Linked DNA regions of Homo sapiens: regions 2, 3, 4, 5, 6 and 7 are each linked to region 1. Evidence: promoter capture Hi-C in 16 types of primary human blood cells and fetal thymus (Javierre and others, 2016). All regions are on one chromosome and are shown on one strand. Each heading gives the region's core, a stretch centred on a gene start or on the middle of the fragment in contact. The rest is flanking DNA. Distances are from core to core; before and after follow the strand shown.

Region 1 (3,655 bases), core at 294-2,793:
TACCTGGCAGAGAAGAGCACCTCCAGGATACTGTTTGAGCACCACCACTGTCAGTTCTGACTAATGCTCTAGGGACACTGGTTGTCAAGTATCCTGGCTATCACCCTGTACCCAGTGATCTCAATAACACTCCTGCACCCAGTGTTTTGGATATCACCTCTGCACCCAGCAATCTGGATATCACCCCTGCACCCAGTGTTCTGGATATCACCCCGGCACCCAGCAATCTGGATATCACCCCTGTACCCAATGTTCTTGATATCATATCTGCATCCAGAGTTCTGGATATTACCAGTGCATAGAACAGTGTCTGACACATAGTAGCTACTCAGTAAGTTTTTCTAAATAGACTGATGAATATATAATCTATTTACTTATTTTATATTTTTTACTTACACACTTTGCAGAAGCATTACCTATTTGTTAGTTCAACCCTACACAATTGTGTTCAATAACAAAGTATCTAGCCCATTAATTCTGCACTGCTATTATCTCTACTTCCAATGCCATTAATCAAGACAATATTGAGTAAGCACATACTAAGTGGCAGAAACCCTGGGCCTTGGAAAGACCCTCCAGGAGTGAGCTGGAGATATGTTATATGCTTGGACTTCTTCCCAAGAGCACAGATGTCATAAATAATTCACAACTAGATGAGAAAAGGAGATGTCAAAGAAATTAAATGACTCATAAGTGTGCTACTATTATTCAGGCTCAATCTGACCTCTTTTTGACTTTGGTGAGAGGGTCTATTTTTTTGACCATCTAAAAGACATAAAAATAGACACCAATTATATGACAAGTTGCAAAAGCTTGAGGAGACCTCTGCATAGACATAGAATCCAAACCGAAAATAATTTATACTCATTGCCTACCTACTATGTACCTAGCACTGTGCTGAGCCATATACACACAGCATTTCAGGTAGTGCCCACCACCATCCTATAAGCAAGTACTAGTCTTCACCCCATTTTACAGATGGGATAACTAAGTTGTGGGGAGGCTAAATAATTTGTCTAATGGTACACGATTGATAAGTGCCAAAGACAAAATATAAATTCCTGTCTGTCTACCTTATAAAGATGTAAATTTAGGAGAACCAGCTTCTCTTGAATTGCAAATTTTATGCTAGAATATCTAATATTTAAATTAGAGCATTCCTTGAACTTTTGTTGGCCAGTTTAATTTTTCTTTCATCTTGTGCACACATTCGTATGGTAACATTCTCCAGTATTTTCCTTGCACCCTTTTTTCATCATGCTCTTCTCCCCAATTCCCTCATCCAGAATGGTGTGGCTTCCGTAAGTGACTAAAACCCACCCTGGCAAAATGAGCTAGGGTCTGCCCTGCTATAATTCAGACAGATCTGAATTACTTCTTGACCCTCCTCACTTCATCCACCCTGCACCTTGCCTGCCCTGTCCCCTGGTGCCCTTGACTACTAGTCTGTTTTCTATATATTGTGACTGTATACACACCTTGCCACTGAAGCTTGAGTCATAATCTATTCTATCTGTATCTCTGAAAATGATCTTTACTTCAACTTTCCTAAAGGATATAGATTTCTCTCTTCTTTGGCTCCAATAATTTGTGCCCAAACTTCAGACCAGTAATTCCCCAGATGAGCCTGCTGCTACCCTACTTGCGTCTTACTTTTGCAAGCTGTTTCCATTCTTATTAGGCTAATAACTGAAGACAGGATCAAGATATCTTTCTAACCTATCCAAAATACCTGAATATTCTGTCACATTCAACAGTAAGTCAATACAGGATTATGTATACATCTTTGTATTCTTCATATTACCCAGTCCAGCCTTCTGCACTTAATAGGTACATGAATAAGTTAATCAATAAATGAAGGAATAGTTGGTTGTTTGATGAATAGCTGGAGAAGAACTGGCATCGTGCCTAGGTAAAGTAGAATATTATTTCATAGGTACCACTTGTATTTTTTTCTTCCTACACAAAGTGTTTAAGAAATATTTGTTCATTAAGATTATTAGCATTGACCAGTAATTGATTTTGAGTCACTTATTTGGCTTACAATATTGTTTACTTATTAGCTACAATGTGTAAGACACCTACTGTACAGCAGCCAATATCTTGAGTACTTTTACAATTTTTCATTTTACAGCACAACAAAAGTTGAAGGTAAGTGTTAGTATCCATTTTTTACAGTAAAGGCAGGATAGAAGGTTCAGAGAGGTTAAGTAATTTGTAGAAGATTTCTTAGGAAATGAATAGGAGTCATGGATCCCATGTCACTCTAATTTCAAATTCTAAATTCTTTTACTCTTTCTGCTATTTTGCACTACTTCATTTTAAAAGCGGTCTTATAAAATATCCTTCTAAAATTTTTCAGGTGTTTTTCAGGAGATAAGGAACTAGCACATTGCCTTTCATTAATCCATTACAGCAGACTAGGTTGCAAGATAATCTAGCTGTTTCCTAGCAGAAGAAAAAGAATGACCTTGAATAAATGGAACCCAGCATCACTATATTTTGATGTGAGAAAAGGAAGTTGAAAAGATTCAAAGGATAGACATCTTCCCAGATTAACAGGGATGTGAGTTCATAGTTCAGGGTCCTAAGTGACTGAAGAGTAAAATGAGGAGGCTAAATGCCCAGATGAGACAGTAACAAAAGATAAAAGGAGGAACTAATCAGACAATTGGGTAAGAGGATGATAGTGAGGAATGGGTGCTGAAAACATGCTTTCCTACTTCACAAATATTTTGAGGAATAATTAAGATTTGTAGGGAGAAAAATGAATTCCCAGCTCTACCTTCTCCCCGTCTCTGGATTTGATTATAGGGATGAGGCTATTACTACAAAAAACTAAGGGTATGAGAGGATAAGAGAAGTAGAAGAGAATTCCACCCTGAAATAACATCAGCTTTTAAAAGTTACCTAATGATGGATGAGGGTATTCAAGTCAAACTACAGATTTACTTTAAAAACTAAAAGCATGCCAAGCTTGATTTAGGGAATAAAGTGGAAGCAACCATCCTTACGCATCTAAATGCAAAATTATTTGGTGGCTGCTGGTACTTTTAGATATGAGTCAATTTAGTAGATAAAACTTTGTAATAGTAATGGCAGCCAGAGGCAAAAGTTGGCACCAAGCTATGGATAAATTCTTACTTTAGGTCCATAGATCACTGTAAAGATCCATCTAAGAATGTCCAGTAGGTCTTTAGCTTGTAAAAAGTGAAGTAGAGGTTCCTCTTCAAAGAGACTCCTCCCTGTCCAATTAGGAATAAACAGTAACTTCTCTTAGAAGCAAAATTTATTCAAAGACCTATGCTAACATTCTTAGATATCTGCTAGCCATAATAGAGAATCAATGTACTTTGTGTTCTTAGCTCCCACATTTTACCCTAAATATTTGCCCTCACATGCTTATACTGGTCCAAGCAAGCATTAGGTCATAGCCTGTTCCACTTCCTTATTTGAAGGTGTTCTTACCTTTCTCAGCATTCCACAAGTTACTTCCTCCTTCCTTTGTTCTCCTCTGCCTTTGCCTCTTTTGGAAAGTTCTAAGTTGCTAGCCAATCGGGACAAATACAGAATGTAAGGTCCCGTTCCAGCCAGTGGAAACCGGACACAGCAGTAGGATGGACGTGTCAGGTTATAAATGACCCTGTCTCCTTTT
Region 2 (3,655 bases), core at 354-2,853, 240 kb before region 1:
AAAATCTTTTTACTTTGTGGTCTTTTCACCATTTAACCAGGCAGAGAAACTTAGGCTGATTGCCTCAGAGAAGAAAAGACACAAAAGAATCCAGCCAGAACAGAGTCAAATTACTGGCTGAGAATATAAAAAGAAAGCCTGGAAAGCTTTAATTTCTAAGCACCTGGCCTTTGGGGGAGAGGGAGTGGAGCTTATCTTTTGTTTTATATATTTTATTTTATTTCATTTATTTTATTTATTTCATTTATTTTCAAATTCTAAAACCTTGGCTCTGCTTCAATAGAGTAAAACCTGGAAGACTGACCAGTTTCTACCAAAAACCAGGGCATGGGGTTGAATGTATAAAATGCTTTCCTGCCTCAGAGGAGAAAGACCCTTTCTGTGTTGAGGGAGGAGCTTTGAGAAAGTTGAGAAAGCAGAGCTAGCGTGTTCAGATGCAAATGTGGGGTCTGCTGAAACCTCTGCATGGAGGCTGAGGAGATGGAAGGGTGCCACCTAGAAACATTTAGGATCTGAGAATAGAAGGTGCCCTGCTTTCCATCTGGAGTAGCCCTGCTGGCCTTCTGTTTGGTCATTGCCTATGCCAAACTACATGTTAAATATTTTTAACATTTTCCTTATACTGGGGAGTTTCAATGGGTTTTCATCAGAGGGTGTAATATGATGTGACTTGTGTTTTGAAAGATCACTGAGTGAAGATGAAGAGGATAGACTGGAGGAGGAATGCCCAGAGACCCACAGAAAACCTTGGAAGCAGTGGTACAGGCTTGAGGGGATGGCAGCCCCAGTTGCGAAGTGTCAGGACTGACTCAAGTTCACTTCTCAGGGAGAGGAAGGAGAGAGACTGTGGGATTGCTCCCAGATTGCTGGCACAGTGGGCTGAATGGTGGTGCCATTAATGGGTAGATAATTCAGGAGAAGGAGGGGGCTTAGGAAGGGAGATAACGAGTTCGGTTTTCATCTAGATGTGCTATGAAATCTTAAAAGTCCTTGAGAAATTGGAGAAATGTGAACTGGTTGATAATAAGGTAAGGAGGATTTGAAGCTAGTGGAACAAATAAACCCACTGTGTTTATTAATGAATCGTGATGCCTCTCAAGGGAGGTCTCTGGTTCTATTGGAGGGCTCTGCCCTTGGCCTAGTTTTTCAAGAACTTGGATGTAGACACAGAAGATATGCTCACCAAATTGCTGTATGATGCAAATATTGAAGAAATAGATATTACAGTAGATGACTGAATTAAAAATTCAGAAGGCTGAAGCAATTGTCTGAAAATAACAGGATGACACTTAGAATAAATATAAAGTCTTACATTTAGGTTTAAAGCAAAATAAATGGCACAGTTACAGGATCTGAAGGTCTGGCTTGGCAGCAATTTCTCCCAACAATTAAATCGGGATTTTTGTTGGCTTAAACTTTATGATGAATCAACAGTGTGATGCAGCCACTTAAAGGCAACTCCCTCTCCAGATGTGATGAAGAAGAGTTTAGAAGACACACTTCCTAGCAAAGTTCCCTCAGTTTTTCAAAACTAAGTGTTTTTTAGAATAAAAATAGTTTAAAGAAGCCACAGATTAAAAACCAAGACTTTTGGTCATTTATTCCAAACACACAAGGCAGGGAATTGCTCTCACTTGGTGGCTTTATGTCCCTGATTGCATCAATTCATCCAGAGACAACTCGTGCCCACTGAATAGACATGTGCTTTCCTGCATTTTCCAGGTCCTTTCAGCTGGGTTGGGACCATGTGACAGAGTTCTGGCAGATAGGAATGAGAGCAGAAGTGACATGGCACTTCTGGTCCTAGGTTCCTAACTGTTGCTGTGTCTCCCGTATCCTTCTTCCTCCTGATCAGAAGAACTTAAAGTCATATGTTGAAGTGCTGGCAGACAAGATGGAGAGAGCCTTCACCCCTGAGTCACTGGATAGTAGAGAGCTCTGCTGACCCACGTGACTTCACATGAGCAAGAAACAAAATTTTGCAGTTATTGAGCACCTGCAGTTTAGGGGTATCTCTATTGTTGCCACTAGCATAACCCCCCAACCCTAAAAGCATTTATCCTTGAACATCACCTGGCAAAGGTGTAGCAATGGCTTAGCCCTTATACTTCTTTACAAGGAACTTCTGAGAAACTCTGCTTGTAGCCCCAGTTTTGAGGTTTTTGGTGGATAAATAATGTACTCGCACACAAAACTGATGGAACTCAATTTTAGTAACATGACGAAGAAAACCACTCTTCTGGTCCACAATTCCTTTATATTAAAAAAAGTACCAATTTATACTAAGGCATTAAAAACACTTATTCATAAAATGTAACACACTTTGTGAATTATCCCAGAGAATGTTCTTATATTGGCTCAGGGTTTTGACGGGCCCTAAGGTCCCTTCCAGTTCATGAAGTAGAGCAGAAATTATAATGTAAGTATAATGGAGGAAATCTTAGAAGTCATCTAATGCTACCAAATACCAGACTTTATAGAGTAGGAAATTGAGCCTGAGAGAATTCGAGATATTTATCCCAGGTTTCTTTGATCTCCTGAATTCCATTTGCAGTGTTCTTCCCAGTACATTGTTTTAAAATTATAGTATTTAAAAGCAAACAATGACAACAACAAAAAAACCCTCTTAACTCTTTTTACCTTGCAAGGAGCTGATTCCTTTCTCCTGAACCTCTTCCATTGTTATGACTCCATGAAAGGGGACAGAGAAGTTTCCTTAGGAACAAAGAGAGGAAAGAAGATGTACAGCAGATGGGAAATCTGTGCAAGCATAGAGCCTACCTTATTCTCATACTACATAACCTTTCCTGGTCTTTCCCCTCTTCTTCTTCAAGCCTTTTTCCTATCACACACATACACATGCTACAAAATCTTTCTGGAACAGATACCTTATCTTCTTTCTCATTCCAGGTTAAACTTAGTCTAGGACAGTGATATTTTTAGTTCAATGAAGTTTTTATAAACTCTAGTTTATCATTTTAACCCCAGAGCATCCTTATCTCAAGGATCTTTCCCTATTCTCCACCCCCTAGTTTTAACCCTTTGCTGCAGAGCTTAGAAAGAAGCTTATTAGAATGATGATCCCTTGGTTAAACCAAGGTCTCCTGCAGCTCATGTCATCATCTGCCAGGCTGTCACTCAGGGTAGCCAGTGGTACCTCCATCATGGACAGATGTCCAGCTTGTGCTCACCGTGTTGGGAAGCCCAGTGGTCAGTGCCATTTTTTCCTTTTTCCCTTGTACCTTCCTGCCCAACTGTTTGTTGCTTCAATTGGCAATCTCATGGAATGGCCAGCAGGCCCCTGTGTTTTTTCCTTCTACAGTCAGGTCTAGGTTCATGAGAATCCTAAGAGTCTCTGCCACCCTTGACTTGATTCCATGGAAAACCAGGAGAGTGATCCTTGCTCTTTGGACATTCACTAACCTTCCTTGACTTTCCCCTAGCCCCTTCTCTGTGCTCCAGGAACCCCATGGTGGGGCCACAGGCTCCTGCAATCCTCCAGGAGGAAGGAGATGCCAGTCTTCCCTTTGTACCATCTACCATGTGCCCTCATTTCACTAGAGAAGTCCTTAAAGACCTCTGCCTTTGGAAAGTCAGGAAATCAGTTGAATTTTACCTCCTCCCACAATAGAGGTGGGAAAGAAAGGGACACTTA
Region 3 (3,655 bases), core at 818-3,317, 230 kb after region 1:
TCTTATTCTGCAATGAGTGCAGATTGCTCTAGTCCTTCAGTAAGCCCAACATGCATTTTCACCATGTCTATAGGCACTTTTCTGCAGTGTTAACAACATCATCTTCATCAACACTATTATCACAATCACTTTCATTCAGAACCATTTTGGCTATAGTCAATGAGTGAACAACTGGAGCCTCACAATCAATATTAAAAACTTTGATATCCACTTCTTCCAGCTTGCTGATGGACTCTGAAGGTATTTTTTTGCATATGTAAAGAGTTCAGAGATCATTTTTTCTTATTTGACATACAGAATTTTTCAAAGTTGTCACATTGTTCTCCACCACCACTAAACGTAGTCACAGGCCAGAGGTTGCGCCAGGCATATACAACTGTGTCTTTAGTCACTTTGTTCAAAGTGTTGGTAACAGCATATATGGACAGCATCCTTCATGCTAAACTGTTTTTGAAAACCTTCACACACTTGCCTCTGTTCACCACGCTACTATGCTGTTCAAGAAATGTATTTTTCATTGATCTAAGGATGCCCTGGTCATATGGTTGAATTAATAAATTACATTTGGAGAAAAGTACATGGCATAAACAACATTACTTTTGATGAAAATTTTAGCTGAAAGCTGAGCAGAACAGTTGTCAAGGAATAATACTGGCAGTCAACATCCAGTCCAGCTTCCCTACAGTGAGCTTCAGCCACTGGTACAAATTGTTTGTGTAACCAATGAGAAAAGATGTCCCTGATGATCCAGGCTTTTGGTTAGCATAATAATGAACTAGTAAGAAATTGACTCCTTGCAAACAGCAAGGACACAAGCTTTTGCCTACACAGCAAGTGTACATTTATGTGTGTGTGCTGCATTAACACATCCGAGCACAGATATTCTGTTCATGGTATCTTTCATTCCTCTAGGGGCTTTCTCATCAGCTGTAGTCGTTGTCTTTCTGGGTCAATAACATCAAAACAGTGATGTTTCATCAGCATTATAGATTTGTCCTAGTATTAGATTTTCATCAGCAACAACCTTTGGAAACTCGTCAATGAATTTCTCCACTGCTTCATGAGCAGCAGATGTTTTATTACCACAAATCTTTAATGCCAAGTCTTTTCTTCAATGTCTTAAATTTCTGCAACCAGCCTGTTGAATATTTACAGTTCCTTTCAACTTGCAGTTCGTTGTGATAGATCTTTGCTTGTTTCCTGATTACCATACCGCTAAGTGGCACATGTTCACTGCAGTGCTGATGGATTCACTCTGTTCACACATGATCAAGATCTTCATGTTCAGCTTTATGCAGTGTTTTTCTATTTCTCATTAACTTCTGTCCACCACTTTCCACATAGATCTTCAACAGTTTATCCTTCTGTTTCTTAGGTCATATGTGGTGGTCATTGCAATACTATACCCTTCTGTAAAATGTTTCACACTTATACTGCTACCTGGTCTCTTCAACAGCTTGACTTTCTGTGCTATGGATAAGTAAAAATGCTTTCTCTTTTCCTTACCACTGTTGCCCAAGGGGTATAAACAGGCGGTTTTTTTTTTTTTTTTTTGACATTTTCAACAATATCTTCACACCACAGAGCATAGAATAAGCAAAAAAAACACAGTAAGGAATGCACATAAATCTTGGCCTCACATAGGGCATTGGGGGGAACCTGCCAATGGCATGTCTGGCCTGCACATGTGCCATTTTATTACACTTCTTTTGTGTGCTTGCATGGAGGAAACTGGGCATGTACAGAAAATATATATTGCAGCTGAAGAGGGCTCAAGTCTCTTTCTTCCCTTTGGGATGCTGAATAAACTGTGTGTGATGTGATTGCATTTTGACCGGGACCTAGCACATAAGGACAGATATGAAATTTTTCACTTGTGGCATCATATTGGCATTCAAAAATTTCAAATATTGAAGTGTTTTGAATCTTGAATGTTTGGATTAGGGAAAGCTCAACCTATAGTCACTTTCCTGTAAGAAAAACTGGAAAACTCTACCTTATCTAAGTGGTCAAGATTAACATCACCAGTGATAAGTCATGTGGATAGGTATACTATATTCTCTAATATGATGTGATGAGAAGGGCACTTCACCTCTGTGATACTCTCTCCCATAACCCACAGCCTCGTCTAATCATGAGCAAAACAGCAGACAAACCCATAGTGAGGGATATTCTTCAAAATACCTGACCAGTACTGCTTAAGACTATCAAGATCATGGAAAACAAGGAAAGACTAGGAAACTATCACGGACCACAAGGAGACTGTGGAGACATGACAACTAAATGCAATGTACTACCCAGGATTGGATCCTAAAACAGAAAAGGGATATCAGTAGAAAAACTAGTCTTTTCCCTTTTCTCCCTGCATTTTCTCTTCAGTGTGTCTCTTATAAGGATACTTGTCATTGGATTTAAGGCCCACAGTGGACAACCCAAAATAATCTCATATTGAGATTCTTAACCTAATTACATTTACAAAGACCTTTTATTTTCAAATAAGGCCACATTCACAGACTCTGGGAGTTAGGATATGAACATATTTTGGGGGCCACAGTCCAGCCCACTACAGATGTTAACATTAGAAGGAAATTTGTAAAGCATATACAAGACCTTGCTATACACTCTGCAACTTTTCTGTACATCTGAAGTTTTTCCAAATTAAAAGGGATATTTTAAAAAATTAAAAATAAATACATATATGAGCAAAGTTCGCCTATGATATAAAAATTCAGAAACTCAAAGAGTAAAAGGAAGCCACCACAGATGGATATCTCTTTGTAGACAGCAAAATTGGAGGCAGCTGTTATCTATAAATTTGTAAAGAATAATACTTAGTAACAATAATACTGTAGAAAATACCTGAATTATATTCTGGTTTTCTACACATGTCTAAGCCACTAAAGACGAAAAACTATCCTGACTTTTCAAATATCTTCAACTAAACTTGAAGATAAAGGATGTAAAATTGTTTTAATGTTTGGTTACTATTCTTCCTTTTTTAAATTGCAGATTTGGAAGGAAGTCAACTACTGCAAAACTATATATATATATATATATATATATATATGCAGATTCAACAGCTCTTTCATTTGGAGTATGTGTCACATTACAGTAACTATATTATATATATATCTATATGCAGATTCAACAACCCTTTCATTCTGAGTGTGTGTAACATTACAGTAAAATTCCAAACTTTACAAAATTTTCTCTAATTGATTTAGTGCTTTGAACAAATGCAAGTTAAGTGGTTCCAATGGCTGGCATTTTCTCTATATTTATCAATAAAGTAATTGCTTCAGCTCAAACCTGTAATTTAAAAGCTTAAATTGATTAAGCAGGGTTGCCCTTCCTGAACATTTTTTTGGTCACCTTTCTGAGGCACATTTGTATCTAATAGATACTGATCTGAGGGTTTCTTTTACTTTCATTGGGTTGTTTTCCTTAATATTATAAAAAGATCTATTGTCTCAAATGGTCCATATTGAAAAGTGATTTGGGTTTATATAGAATTCTTATTCTTATGGTTAGAATTCTGTACCTTTTTGATGTTAGGGAAAGAGGTCTGCAGTTAGGTGACAACCAAATACCAAATATCAAACATGGAATATAGTAATGTCAGGTACCACAGCCCTAAGATCCTGGCTTGACTCTA
Region 4 (3,655 bases), core at 582-3,081, 210 kb before region 1:
GTAATAGAACAGATTATTTTGAGTGACTTGTCATGTGTTACTATTTCCATTAGTTACACAACTTTGTGCAAGACTTTGAAAATGAAACACAGAATCCTGGGATTCCCTTGCTGTGGGCAAGTACACGTGCTGTGAGTGGATGTGAGGATGTCTTCTGAAGGGAGGAGAATTCTCCTCTGTCAACTTTCTATCTAGGGCAGAATATAAGCCATAGCTTGATCCTATGTTTATAAAAGAGAACACTTCTTTTTTCTTGGGACTGAGTTGAATTTGGAGACCTCAATAATGGCTAAAAAACAAGGTCAGTCCTGCAATGCATACAGGTTAGGTGGGCCCTTCATGGTAAAATGCAGGAAGCCTAAGGAATGAGACAGCCTGTGAAAAACCCTAGGAGGAGCTCCTAGGAGATATCCTCTTTAGAAGGCAGTTTTTAATATTCTCTTTTTGCATTTTAATTGCCTCCTTTCATGCCCAGTACTACAACAATCCTTTGGTAAACATTGCTGCATAGTCTTAGCTGGTACTTCAAGGAATTAGCAATGCCCATATGAGAGAATCTAATGTCCATACCTAAGGAGGAAGCAAGTTATGAGATGGTAAAAGATGAATGACTGGGAGAAAAAAAATACCAGTCCAGAGCAAGAAAGCTGGCTGGGGGTTCCAGAGATGACCGAGTAGTTTAATGGAACATAAAAGCATTCCTAAGAGAATTCTCCAAAATTTACTTAAAGATAGTAGGAGGGTAGAGAAGAATCTTGTATGACCACATTTCCACATTGCACAGAATGGGACTATTATTATGTTTGTTTATTGTCATCATTGTTTGAATTAAAAGGAAAAATTACCCAGAAAGTGGGAGAGTTTGCCGGCATTAAAGCTGAATTAACTTGCTAGGGCTAACGTAACAAATACCACAGTCTGGGTGGCTTAAACAGCAGACACTTATTTTCTTACAGTTCTGGAGGCTGAGGAGTTCAAGATCAAGGTGCTGGCAGGCTTGGCTTCCCCTGAGGCCTCTCCCTTTGGCTTGCAGAGGGCCATCTTCTCTCTGTGTCCTCACACAGGGCCTTTCCTTTGTTCATGTGCATCCCTGGTGTCTCTTTCTCTTCATAAGAACTCCAGGCATATGAGATTAGGGCCCCTCCTGATGGCCTTATAACCACCTCTTTAAAAACCTTATCTTCAGATACAGCCACAGTACTGGGGACTAGGGCTTCAACATATGAACTTGGGGGAGGGTGGGGGGCACAATTCAGCCCGTAACAGGTGTTCATACAGATGTTAAAATGCATTCATATTTCAGCCCTAAAGTGTTGAAAAACACAACGACATGATGGACGTCGATGTCAGGGTAACAGCCTCTTTCCTCCTTACTCTGATACTCTCCCTAACCCTCTGCAAAGCGTGGCATCATCTTTAACTGACTGTCTTTCTAGAAACCCTAGGCTGTCTTCTAGATGCTATTTCTCTAGAAGATTTTAATAGAGAGACCTACATTAAAGGTCACAGGAGTGGGAGGATGGAAAGGACTGCAAGGGTAAAATCGGGAAAGGAAGGAAGCTCCTGCCTCTAGGCCCAGCATGTAGGAGCACAGTTAAGAGATGACAAGTTGTGCTGCAGGCAAATCTGCTTCCTACACTCACTTCCCAAATACCTCTGGAGGCATCCAATACTTCATTCAAACGCACTCAAGGCGAAGCGCTCAAACCGTCACTGAACATTTCTCTGGCAGGTTGCCAGTACTTCATTCTTCTTGTTAATGGTGACAGAGAAAATTACACAAAGCATCCAGGATGCTGATATGCCACTTGCTTCACAGTTTACTTCAAAGTCCCCTCAGAGTTTTCCGAATTTTACTTTCTGGAACAAAGAATATTATTGGCATAAGCATCAAGTATGCAGTTAATAGTGAGCAATTTCTGAATTTTTGAGTCAGAAGCAATCTGTCAGCAAGTAATAGCCAAAGGCCCTGTAGTAATAGGCTTAGTTGGCCCAGGCTTATTTCTCTAATTCACTGATTCTCTTGCATCAAAACAGCAAAAAACAAAGTTTAAAAAATGATGATTTTTCTACCAAGTTGTCTCCCGTGGCTTTTATTCTTATACTGTAACATGACCTGGCATTACCCTGGGCTCTCCTTTAGTCTCCTTGGTTGAGGATGACATCTAGGGAGACCTATTTAACTCATCAAATCATAAAAGCTAGACAGAACCACAAGAAATTGTTCTGTTAAATCTCCCTGGAAGGCTTCAATGAGGCACAACCATCAAAGTTTTTCAGGGAAGAAAGGCAGTGTTGTCTGTATATTTAGCCGTCAAAAAGGTTTTCCTGTGTCAAAGTCGCTCTCCTGCCAGTGTCTGAACTTGAATTAACTCTAAATCTTGCCAAATTCCCTGCCCCACATCCAGTCTCAGGAAGAAAGCCTGGTATTCGAATATTTTCCAACAAAATACACAAACTGAACTCTCAACATTGACCCTGGGTTGCCTGTGAAATCTTGATTTCCAATTTCTACAGCTAGAAGAGCCCTTAGCCCAGGGCTGCTTCAGAAATCCTTGCTTAATGGATGACTCATATGGTCAGTCCTTGAAATCTGAAGATTAATGTTGATCATAAACGTGAATTTTTGGGGAATACTCGGTAATTTTTTGAAGCCCAGTTTTTCTTATAATCTGTGAGAAACTTAGCTGCTTATTTAAAGCTATTTGCTTCTCAATTTACTGTGTCTCTGCATAGGTGATCAAACATACTTTGCTGTATTCTCCTCTTTCTGTGGTCTCCCTTTCTGCTTTCTTCCACTCAGTCTTCAGCAAAGAACCATGTTCTCAAGAACACCATCCATCCGACAGTGCCCCCTGCCTCCCATCTGGCAACTCAGCAGTGGTATTCATTAGTCCTGGCTCTGAACTCCTGGCTTGTGCTGTTGGACCAAATAGCCAGTAAGGTTTGCTCAGTGACTTGTTGTTTGCAAAGAAAGAAACTAAGGCATGTGATCACTTAGTGAGGAGTGGGTGAAGAGAAACTTGAGCTGTACAATGTTGCCTGTTATAAGCATCGTTGTCAGCCCAGAAACCCAGGGTTTCCAGGCCTAGAGTCACAGTGAAAATGCTTCAGGTGTCATCAGCACAGTTGAACTGCATATCCCACCCTTGCCAAACATGGTCCACCTCACACCCTTATTTCACAGGTGGGAAAACTGAGTCCCAGAGACACATGGTATTAATTTGCTTAAGTTTGCATGGTATATAGCTCATTGCTGGGAAGTTGTATGTAGAACTCAAGTCCCCTGACTTCCAGTTCAGTGTTCATTACAGTATACTGTATGGTCCTCAAGTACTTCTTCACCATTCTGTCCATCCCATTATGCCACCCTAGACTCAAAACCATGCAGGTCAGCTTTCTGCATGCCAAAATAACAGGTCTAAACACATGAGCTATGCATCCAAAAAGCCCGAGGGTACGCCTGTCTTTCTGTATCAGGAATTGTCCATGTTCTTTACCAGCCAGCCCCTGGAGCAGCTAAATGGCACTTGGTAGCTTTGCACATTCATTCTTCAGAGAACAAAGGAATACAGATGACACATGATGTTGCTGGCCTCCTCAAACTCCTTCAGTGTTTTCCCTACAAAGGTTCAAACACCATGGCCCCATATTA
Region 5 (3,655 bases), core at 661-3,160, 210 kb after region 1:
TGGCACGATCATAGCTCACTGCAGCCTGACCCTCCTGGGCTCAAGCCATTCTTCCACTCAGCCTCCTGAGTAGCTAGAACTATAGGCATACACCACCACACCTAACTAAATTTATAACTTTTTTTTAGAGACGGAGATCTCGCTATGTTGCCCAGGCTGGTCTCAAACTCCTGGGCTCAAGTGATCCTCCCTCCTCAGCCTCCCAAAGTGCTGGAATTATAGGCAGGAGCTGCTACGTCCTGCCTTCTCTGGGTCCTCATAAAGGTATCATGTAACCTTCCAGCAGTTGATGAAAAAGGATATGATAAGCTTTGTACTCAAATATACATTTGATATTATGGCATGGAAGTGAAGTGGAATTGTTCAGTAGGTTGGCACTAACAGTCTGTAACTTAGAAAAAACAGGACTAATGGTTTTAGATAAAAGAATTTTCCATAATGAGTTGATGGAGGAGGGTGAAGAAGTGACATTGCCAGCAAAATATATTAAAGAAAGTAGGACAGGAGCTATAGCTATGGGAACCCAGAGTAAGCACTGAGTGAGGAAAGAAGCAAGAGAAGGATTTGGGGATGAAAAAGTGGAGCAAGAAGGGTGTAGATAAATAAAGGAGGGTAAGAATTCCAAGAAAAAAAAGTGTAAACAACAGTGCCAACTGCCAAACAGAAGCAGTCAGGGTAAGAACTATTCAAATGAGCCTGGGTGGAGCAGGGAGGAGGACACCAATGACCTTCACTGAATAGGCTGAGTGGAATGGTAACGACAGACTGTGCTAGGAGAAACTAGAGGCACTAAGCATAAACCACTCAGTGGCCATTAAAGGAAATACAGAAGCAAAGGATAGCTCAAGGGAGGAACAGCGTTAATCAAAGATTTTGCTCAAGGTAGAGGAGACCTAAAAGAAGAAGTAGATCTTATCTCTTCCTTCTGGCTCTGAAGATGGTAAAAGCGAGTTAACTAGACAAGAATTATTTTGACCACAAATCTCTCCAGAAAAGGAACTGGGAAAAGATTAACTCCCCCTCTAAAGTAACAGATGTTGGCTTCTCCTCCAGATACATTTGTTAAGGAATGTAGGATGTTCCTCCAAATACTCCCCACTCTATTCTACACCACCCTACTCCCATCCCTGGGACATTATTTTCTTTGTACCAGTTCCCCTCCCACTGGGTCCCAGTTCACCCATTTCTCACACCAGGCCTGGTGGTGAGACTCATTCACTTCCCTTGTTTTCAGCTGAACTATCTACTTTCCTCTAGACCAGGGTTTCTCAACTTCCACACCGTTGTCATTTTGAACCCAGTAATCTTTTGTTGGGTAGGTAGGAGGTGTAGTCCAGTGCAGTGTAGCTTAGTAGCATCCCTGGCCTCTCCCCACCAGATGTCAGTAGCATGTCCTCCCACAGTCAAGATAATAAAAAATGCCTCTAAACATTACAGAATGTTCCTTTATGGGGAAAATCCCCCACACCCACATTGAGAATCACTGTTATAGACACTTCTCTCCCCCGATTCTCCCTATAGACTGAGATAGACACCCTGCTGCACCCCACTTCTCCCATACTACCTGTCCCTGAAACAAGCAAATGATGCTTTTCATTTTCTTTCCGACAATTTTCACTACTGATAACTGACAAAGCTTAACAAATATCATCCTAACAAAATTCCAGTTTCAAGAATGCTCACAGAGTTACCATGCTCCTTAGATTCCAGGGAAATGTGAAGTAAGCAAGGGCTGTAGTTTCCATGCCCACTTCCTGGACTCCCTTCTTAGCCAGCATGTGGGATGTGGCTGCACCCTAGTTGATGGTGAGACTGAGTGCTGGACCTGCCTCCTGGTTCACACTCATGTGGACACACAGTCAAGTTGTTAAGTCCATTAGATCTGGTAGGTTTGGCAGGACAGCTCTCAGCACGTTGGACTGGCCCTGTGCTGATCCCTCCTTTCTCACTTCTATTTCTCAAGAATAGCGATAGGGTGTGCTGAGAATGTAACATCCTGAAATAGGGAGATACTGGCCAGCACATCCTGGGCTCTGTTCCAGTCCCCCAGAAACAGGATGCCCTTCAGTGCTTTAGCCCAGTGAGTCTAGCAACCCTGGGGTATAAAACCTAGTGAGGGCTGCTTTCCTGGGTCCCTTAGCTGCAGTGCAAATAGGGCACATGAAGCAGACTCCATCTTCCACAGGAAGCTTTCCTAAGCCTTGGGGGACTGACTGACTTGCAATGAATTCTACACTTCTGTTGTCCCTTCCTACCTATCTGTAAGTAATAAACTTGCTTCATGTGGTGTGTTGTGTGTGTGTCTCGTCTCACCAGACTCAGACAAGTTGATATCTAGTTCACAGTGAACCTGCTTTGCAGGTTTGCTTATTTCATTGCCAGGTATTCATAGTACTGTCACCACTTTTTGTCAAAAATCACCGTGTAGTTTTTCTGCAGTTTTTACTTATTCTGCTATCTCCACCCTCAACATCTACTACTCATATATTCACCCTGCCCAAGTTTTAGTTCATTCTTAACTGACTTTGCATCATACTTAGAGACTTTTATGATTCCAGTCCTGGAATGTTAATCCTTCCTGGGATGCTGGGATGAGAAATAGCATCTCCCATTTGACTCCAAGGCTCCCAACTTAGCTCTCAAGCTGACCTCATCCATCTTGTTCCCCTGACGGTCTTTACAGCTCTGACTGTGTGATTCATCCCTTTCCCCAGTCCTATTTTTGCCTGCACTTTCATTTGCCTTAAACATCTTTTTACTTGAATGTCAAGACAAGTTTCACGTATTAGACCTTATATAAATTCTTCTTTACAGTCCAAGCAACATCGTGAGTCCTTAGCTCATTTGAACAGAAGATATGATAAATATACCCTAAATTGTCAATACATTTCTGACGGATTACAGTAGCTTTGCCTACTTTTCAAAGCCTCTTTGAATCATTACTTGTGTCCTTTTCCACATCTCTCTAAGGAAGTGGGTTTTTTTAATTAGGTCGTTTTACATATAGAGCAATACTAATTGATACAGTTGACTGGAGATACAACCCTGACCTCGTGACCAGCAAGGACATTAAAATCTCTTGCTTCTAAATTGGATTTCTTTGTGGAAACATATTTGCGTATCTCTTTGGAATCCCCTCTTTGCATGTTAATTGGTTGAAATACAAAATGATATTGATTGGTCCTATAAAAAGAAAGAATATGGCTTGTCTTCCTTATCTTTTTATCATCTTGAAGATGGTTAACATTTATCAAAAATAGTCTATGCTTAGCAGTATGCTACAATTGGCTCCTAGGCAACATGGCTGTGTTCTTGCTTTCAGCCCTCTGCCCTCACATGAGTACTAAGAAAAATAAGTGCTTATTTTTCTGACCACTTTTTGACTAATCTATTCAGTCCATGCTCCAAAATATAAGTGGACACTTCTCCTGAGGCTTTCGTTAAAAAACCCTTTCCAAATCCTACCAATTCTCCTCTCAAATTGTGTAGCCTAACATAACCACTAACTCTAGCAAACCTTAATTTGCTTAAAAATAAAAAAAGAAAAGAAAGTCCCCAAAATGTCAATACAAGAGCCCAGGATATTCACCACTTGACCAATGACTGACAGTAAACACACACACAATGAGCCCAGTCCTTCCGCTGAACCAAGACT
Region 6 (3,655 bases), core at 798-3,297, 180 kb after region 1:
AGTGCTATCCAGTCATAAAGAAAAATGAGATGCTGTCATTTGCAATAACATGGATCACTAAACTGGAAATCACTATTTTAAGTGAAATAAACCAGGCATAGAAAAACAAACATCACATGTTCTCACTTATTTGCAGGATCTAAAAATCAAAACAATTGAACTCATGAAGATAGGGAGCAAAAGGGTGGTTTTCAAAGACTGGGAAGGGTATTGGGGGCGTTGGGGGCGTAAGTGAGAAGGGTTCATGGGTATTAAAAAAACAGACACAGTAAGACAGTATTTGATAGCACAATGGGTGACTAGTCAAGAATATTTAATTGTACATTTCAAAATAACTAAAGTATAATTGGGTAGTTCGTAACACAAAGGATAAATACTTTAGGGATGGATACCCCATTTTACATGATGTGATTATTATGCATTGCATGCCTGTATCAAAATATCTCATGTACCCCATAAACATATACACCTACTATGTACCCACAAAAATTAAAATAAAAAAATTTTAATGTCTTGTGACTAGTACCTGTTAGAGATGTAATATATACTTACTAAACAGAGTCACCCTAAATGAATTCAGTTAACACACAAGTCAACCATAATTTATGGATTTTTTCATTCTTCTTTTGAATATAGAACTTAAGAATATTTCTAAATTAATCTCACTGAAATATAATGGTGAGAGTTAATTAGATTGAAGTGTTTTAAGAGGGTTCAAGTAGTTTACACGTTTTCTTTTATAAAGAAAGCTATAAATATCCACTCTTTCTTATATCTCCTGGATCTCTCTACCACCCTTTAGCACATTATTTGCTTCCTGCTTTTAATTAAGAAGTTTCAACTCGGTAATCCTTTTTTTTTTTATTATACTTTAAGTTTTAGGGTACATGTGCACAATGTGCAGGTTAGTCACACATGTATACATGTGCCATGCTGGTGTGCTGCACCCATTAACTTGTCATTTAGCATTAGGTCAACTGGGTAATCCTTAAGATCTAAATACAAGACTTTGAAAAATGTTTTCCCTTTTATACAGGAAGCCAACTTTGCCCCTGGTAGGCTGTCTAAATCTGCTCCACAGGGAGTGAAGAAATTCTTCTACAACTTTATCCTGAACTGATTCTTTATTGAAAGAGGAGTACCTGTGGATTTAAAAATCTTTTAAATTCTCTCAAAAAGGAAGCCTATGCGTCTGTGATTAATTGTATCACTCATATATGCCATTTCTTACTTCCACAGAACCACGTATCTAACTTCCTAACAAATTTCAACACCACAGGGCATGTCCTGTGACTTGATACCAAGCACGACCTATAGCTTAAAATTGGAACACACAATTATGAATTAGGCCAATGAGTAACCAGAAAGTGTTCCTGGAAGGAAAGCTAAGAAACCTTCCTAACTCCATGCAGAAGACCCTAAGCTTGACAAACACTGTTGAGGTACATATCAAGAAGATGCATATAGCCTCCTAAATTTCAGGATTCAAATTTTTTTTTACAACTTTGTATACTGACTAGCCTCTGAAAGCCTCAGTGAGCTAGACTCCTTGACAAGACATTTGCAGTTACCAAAAGAAAGCGTGTAAAAGGTATTCACTGCTTAAAATGATGGGGTTGTCCTGGAAAATTGCATTGTTCACAAAGCAGCAAAGACTGAAACACAAGTTGAACTAATGATCAGAAAGCATATCCTAGTAAGACTGTAACTAAAACTCTAAGGGTCTTCTCTGATTTCCTGTCTGTAAAATGGACATGATAACTTCAAATCTATTTCACGGTCACATACCAAAATAGATACACACATAGATATATAGATATAAACAAAGCTTTGTTTTTATTGGTTAACATCGATGGCCCAGGTCTAATCTTTAGTTCTTTAGTGACCGTAAGTCACAAATAGATCATTTGTTGAGTTTTTAAGTGCAGACACATCATTCGAGGGGCTCAAATTCTATTCTTGGTTAAAGGTATTTAATGGTTCATTTTACATATATTTTGCCAAACTAGAATCATAAGATCAATAAACTGCCTTTCATTTTCAACTACAATTAAATAGCAAATTGACCCTAAAACCTTTTAAGATATCATCAATCTTTTAAGAAATTATGTGAGTGTGAGTGTGTGTGTTTCTTATCTAAGTTTCTAAGAGGGCCTAGAATTTTTTTAAGTTTTATTTAAGTTGAGGGGTACATGTGTAGGTTTGTTATATAGGTAAACTTGTGTCATGGGGGTTTGTGATACAGATTATTTTCTCACTCATGTATTAAGCTTAGTACCCATTATTTTTTCTGGTCCTCTCCCTCCTCCCTCCCTCCACCTTCTGACAGAGGGCCTAGATTTAAAAACAACTCAGTAGCAACAAGCACATGTGGCTGCCTAGATCTTAAATTCTAAACACTATTCTCCACTCAAAGGAATAGGACTACCTTGGAGAAATGACTGATTCCAAGGCAAGGATAGGAAAAGTACAAAATGAGCTGAGAACATCTCATTGTTTCAGAAAGTAAGAAGTGCTCAAAGTATGACCAAAACTGGGAGAGTTTGAGCATTAAAATAAATAATGATCATAGCAGATGATAATACATTGGATAAAATAATAATCTATAAATCCATATTGAAATGAAAAAGGAAGAAAGACAAAAAATAAAGGAAGGAAGGAGGGAAGGAAAGGAAAAACTTTTGAGGTAGAATGTCAATAATAAAAAAATAAAGTTAGAAAAATCATGATTTCTCAGACATAACAGAAATACTTGATGGACGCATTTCTACGAGAGCTCTGAGAAGCCAGCTCTCTCCCTCTCTGTCTGGATTTGGATGAGGAAGCCTGTGATCCTGGGAGTAGCTGGCAGTCATAACATTTTGTAGTGTTTCAACATCCTTTTCGGCACTCCACCTTAGTATAAAAATGAAACCAAGAAAGCAGGAAAGGAAAACGGTAGGAAAAGGGGCCCTTCATGCCATTTTTGAATTGGTGAATCAAACCAATCTTAAGTCTGCCCTAACTCGGGACTTCCAGTTACATAAACCGTTAAGTCTCCTCTATTGCTTACCTCAGCTTTAGTGTTACCTGCAATCAAAGTACTCTTGCTGATACAGACTTGTGATCTCAAAGTTTAAGCCTGCATTTTTACAAGTTTGGTTTCTGTGACACAGTTCAATAGACGTGGCATAATTAATCTATTCATTATCACTACACAGACATTAGAATTTTTAAGGCCTCACTATCATTACTTGTGGAAGGTTTCAATATAATAAATAATTACAACTCAATGTGCAATACAAAATGCAAATATTGAAAACCCTGTACATCTCTGAGTTGAGAAGACCTGATCAATGACAGCTATAGTGATTGTGCCAAAATATGACTCTAAGTAAATGTACCTAAATTCCAGTAATCTATCTCTAGTATAACCAGTAATTTTCTTTCCCTCCTTTTTCCCACCTCAATTTTTCCCTCAGAAATATATATAAAAGCTGTATCTAAATGTGGCTTTGAAACTGAAAGGTCATTCCAGGGGTGTGTGTGTGTGTGTGTGTTTCTCCCTTGTGGAAGAGAAATATGGAGGTACACAATGGCATTCTAGTTTTGCCCAATAGTTGTAATCTGCTGTACAATGACCTCCACAATTTCATCTCCCTGTATTTTTCCTTTT
Region 7 (3,655 bases), core at 442-2,941, 150 kb before region 1:
AAGGCCCCTTTCCCACTTCTTCAATTTGCTAATTCCTGCTCCTTCTTCTCACATTCAGTTTAGGCATCACCACCTTTTTAAGAAATGTTCTTTGAACTGCTGATCTCATTTAGAAAGGAGTCTTTGTGGTCACAGTGCACCAGGTACAGAACTCTACACTTGTCCTTACCACTCTACACCTGAACTTGGACTTTATTTTTCTGTCTTCACCACTAGACTATAAATTCCATGAAGGAACAGATCGCAGGATACATTGTTGATCGCATATGTAACATCCATTATCCCTTTCTTCCTTCTCAACGAAATCTTGATTTTTGTCCTGGTCTCCATCCCTCCCATACAGCCTGCTAGATCCAGGGAAGGTGACGCCAAGGAATAGATTCTAATTATCTTAGCCAATCAGTGTATTGAATTGGATCTGATAATGGGCTAATAAGCAGGTGACCTAAGTTCAACCAATCAGACCGAAGGGAAAGAATTGTATTTCATGCTTAAGAAATGTGAATGCTATTCTTAAAGTAATGCAAAACTGTAGAAGAAATGTAATCTGAAAGTGACAAGATTTTTTTTTTCCAGGGAAGGTTATTCTGAGAGTAATTTGGCGGATGGATTTGAGCACGGAGAAGGGGCAGAAATGAGGAAATGAGTTCAATTTCAGAGAATATTAGAGTAATTCACATGAGTAAATATGAATGGCCCAAATTAAGATGGAGGGCATGGGAAAGGAAAAGAGGGAAGGAGTCAAGTTGCATTATGGAGTTAGAATTGCAGGACTCATTATGGGTTCAGAAAGCACAGGAGATTAGCTGGAGAAAAGAGTCTAAGATGATTCTAGATTCTGGCTTTGTGACTGCTTGGATGATGATGGGATTTCCTAAAACAGAAAATACAGGAAGAAAAGTGTCTATGGGAGGATCAGTGGGTGACACTGAGTTCAATTTTATACCTGTTGAATGTATAACACACATATTCAATGATGTTCCAGTAGCTATCTTTGAGTAATTTTCTTATCACCAGCTCCCTTTTCCTCATGCTTCCTTCCTGTTATGGGCTGAATTGTGTCCCCTCCCCCCACACACCACCCCCAAAATGTACATGCTAAAATCTGAACTCTCAGTACCTCAGAATGTGACTGTATTTGGAGATAGGGTCTTTAAAGAGATAATTAAGGTAAAATGAGGTCATATGGTCGGGCTCTAACCTGAAGTGACCAGTGTCTTTCTAAGAAGAGATTAGGACACAGACACATACATAGGGAAGACCACACGAAGATGTGGGAAGAAACACATCTAACACCAGGGAAACAAACCCCAGTGACACCTTAGATCTCAGAATTCTAGTCTCCAGAACTGTAAAGAAATGAATGCCTGTTGTTTAAGCCCTCCGGTCTGTGGTACTTTGTTATCGCAACCGTGGGAAACTAATAGACCGCCCTTGCAGCAAACATGTGGAAGAGTAAAGGATTTGTAGTATTTGCATTTGTTATGAGGTTTCGGATATTCTACAATGCAAAGTCTGAGGAAGAGCCTGAAGCTAAAGAAGTTATACGTCCAGGGCTTTATCCAAACCCAGAAGGTTGCTTACATATGTGTATAAAAGTTGAAGTCAGGAGGGCTCCACTAAAATTCACGGCTCGTTTTTCTCAGAACAGCATTCCAAAACACATAAGGGAAAGGAAACCGATTTACAATTGACCCTGTCCACTTTCAAGTTTCCAGCTGTATTTACACAGCTGCTGAAGGCAGCACAGATGAGAGATTCTCCCCTTCATCACTGAGAAACCCACACCAAGAGTATGCTCAGTGTCTTCGTATTAGACGATTCAGTAAGTCTCAGGGAGGAACACAAAATATCAGGAACTCAGCCATTGACACTGGGGATGCTGACAATGAGAGGAGGAAAAATAGATGTAAACTTAGCAAATTGTGAAATATGAATGCAAAAGCAAACACAGGAGGACTTACAACCTACATGACTCTATAAAATATGATGAACAGAGCATTTAAAAGATAAAGGACAAATGTAAGATGTGAGGAACTTTTGAAAATTATGGTGCTTTCAATCTTGTATTTTACTCAACACCTGGAAATAATTGTAAATCCCTGGAAAAGTCAAGTTTGTCCTCCTGGAGGTGAAGAACAAGGAGGTTGTTGCAGAAACAAAGAGATAAACGAAAGGAATGTCTCAAAGGAAGATTTATCCAGATTATCCTACCACGCAAAACAGACCATATGAAACACATTTTAAAATTATCCTCCTTCTTGCCTTAAAACTGATCTGCATCATGGTACAAAACTGTAAAAATAATACTGGTAGTTAATGCTGTTCTAAAACAAGAAAAAGAAATTATTTTAAAATCCCAGTACGTCTGTATGTGTGTGTGTGTGTGTGTGTTTGTGTGTGCGCGCACGCGCATGCTTATTTGTGTTAACGAATTTGCATTAACAAAGTAGAATGTTTGTTCCCCCTGGAAGAATTTTTTGAATTTTACAATTATAAATGGGTATTTTCTGTAACACTGGGGAAATGCAGAAACATGCTCTAAGAAGCTGATAACATATATACTGTCTGGTTATAGACAAGGTAGTGCTTGTCTTACCAACCAAACGGTGGATTAACAAAAAAAACCTCTATATGTACATATCCCCTGATATGATGCCATGGTTAAAACAAATTCCATACATACTAAATATAATTTTGAAGTTAACTTAAGCATCTTGACAGCTAGGCAAAATACTATCCTGTTCCATTGACCTTAGCCTCAGAACTTAGGATTCAATAGGGCCTGCAGCATCCAGGGTTATGCTTTCAGGTGCTCCATTTAGGCACCTTCTTCAGCTGACCACTAGTTGTGAAGTTGCTTCAGTTCAGAGGCAGAGATGGAAGGAGGGGGTTGGCCCAAAAAGAAAGGGCTGATTGAAGGCTGTATTATTCTGTTTTCATGTTGCTGATAAGACATACCTGAGACTGGGCAATTTACAAAAGAAAGAGAGGTTTAATGGACTTATAGTTCCACATGGCTGGAGAGGCCTCACAATCATGGCAGAAGGCAAGAAGGAGCAAGTCACATCTTACGTGGATGGCAGCAGGCAAAGAGAGAGCTTGTGCATGGAAACTCCACTTTATAAAACCATTAGATCTTGTGAGACTTATTCACTATCACGAGAGCAGCATGGGAAATACTTGCCCCCATGATTAAATTACCTCCCACCAGGTCCCTCCCACAACACGTGGGAATTCAAGACAAGATTTGGATGGGGACACAGCCAAACTATATCAAAGGTGAAAGATCTTTGCCTTTAGAATGAGGTTCTTAAAAACATAATAATAAGGAGGTTTTTCTTTTCAAATGTTAGGGTAGTATTTTTATTCTTGTAATGATACCCAAGAAGGTAAACCCCTGACAGAAACTTCAGACATTAGATGGTATGGTCCTCTGGAATTCATAGAAGTACACATATAAAGAATTATGAAGGTGCTTGCATTTAACAGTAATTTCATATGTTTGTTGCACTTTCTAACTTGTAAAAATATTTCAGTATGTATCTCACAAGCTATGAGAACCTGATTTTATTATTCCTATTTCACAGATGAGAATCAGAGGTAGAAAAAAATGAAGGCCGTTACATAGGATCACAGCTCTAGTTAATAACAC

What was found. Contacts are between HindIII fragments. The CHiCAGO score rates a contact against its expected background, and 5 or more counts as called.
Region 2: a fragment that was not itself captured here is called in contact with the fragment with the promoter of NREP-AS1 in region 1 in 2 of 17 cell types (M1 macrophages and M2 macrophages); the score reaches 7.5 in M1 macrophages.
Region 3: a contact is called between a fragment that was not itself captured here and the fragment with the promoter of NREP-AS1 in region 1, in 3 of 17 cell types (M2 macrophages, M1 macrophages and M0 macrophages). The highest score is 5.7, in M2 macrophages.
Region 4: a contact is called between a fragment that was not itself captured here and the fragment with the promoter of NREP-AS1 in region 1, in 1 of 17 cell types (M1 macrophages). The highest score is 5.1, in M1 macrophages.
Region 5: a fragment that was not itself captured here is called in contact with the fragment with the promoter of NREP-AS1 in region 1 in 1 of 17 cell types (M1 macrophages); the score reaches 5.5 in M1 macrophages.
Region 6: a contact is called between a fragment that was not itself captured here and the fragment with the promoter of NREP-AS1 in region 1, in 1 of 17 cell types (M1 macrophages). The highest score is 5.5, in M1 macrophages.
Region 7: a fragment that was not itself captured here is called in contact with the fragment with the promoter of NREP-AS1 in region 1 in 1 of 17 cell types (M1 macrophages); the score reaches 5.7 in M1 macrophages.

What each region holds. Positions count from the first base shown.
Region 1 is chr5:111,910,965-111,914,619 of GRCh38, forward strand. NREP-AS1 (NREP antisense RNA 1) reads left to right here and starts at 1,544. Exons shown (of 4, transcript NR_046678.1): 1 at 1,544-1,756. It also overlaps a transcript of NREP not described here. The HindIII fragment of the contact is 1,485 bases long and covers 1,490-2,974 here.
Region 2 is chr5:111,675,300-111,678,954 of GRCh38, forward strand. All of the region lies in intron 2 of STARD4-AS1 (STARD4 antisense RNA 1), which reads left to right. Among named protein-coding and RNA genes, the nearest start is that of NREP, 80 kb to the right of the region's middle. The HindIII fragment of the contact is 2,919 bases long and covers 145-3,063 here.
Region 3 is chr5:112,137,479-112,141,133 of GRCh38, forward strand. No RefSeq gene overlaps it. Among named protein-coding and RNA genes, the nearest start is that of EPB41L4A-AS1, 21 kb to the right of the region's middle. The HindIII fragment of the contact is 2,507 bases long and covers 815-3,321 here.
Region 4 is chr5:111,695,705-111,699,359 of GRCh38, forward strand. All of the region lies in intron 2 of STARD4-AS1 (STARD4 antisense RNA 1), which reads left to right. Among named protein-coding and RNA genes, the nearest start is that of NREP, 60 kb to the right of the region's middle. The HindIII fragment of the contact is 5,664 bases long and covers 1-3,655 here.
Region 5 is chr5:112,118,826-112,122,480 of GRCh38, forward strand. No RefSeq gene overlaps it. Among named protein-coding and RNA genes, the nearest start is that of EPB41L4A-AS1, 40 kb to the right of the region's middle. The HindIII fragment of the contact is 553 bases long and covers 1,635-2,187 here.
Region 6 is chr5:112,095,127-112,098,781 of GRCh38, forward strand. No RefSeq gene overlaps it. Among named protein-coding and RNA genes, the nearest start is that of EPB41L4A-AS1, 64 kb to the right of the region's middle. The HindIII fragment of the contact is 442 bases long and covers 1,827-2,268 here.
Region 7 is chr5:111,761,382-111,765,036 of GRCh38, forward strand. It overlaps a transcript of NREP not described here. Among named protein-coding and RNA genes, the nearest start is that of NREP, 6.0 kb to the left of the region's middle. The HindIII fragment of the contact is 8,270 bases long and covers 1-3,655 here.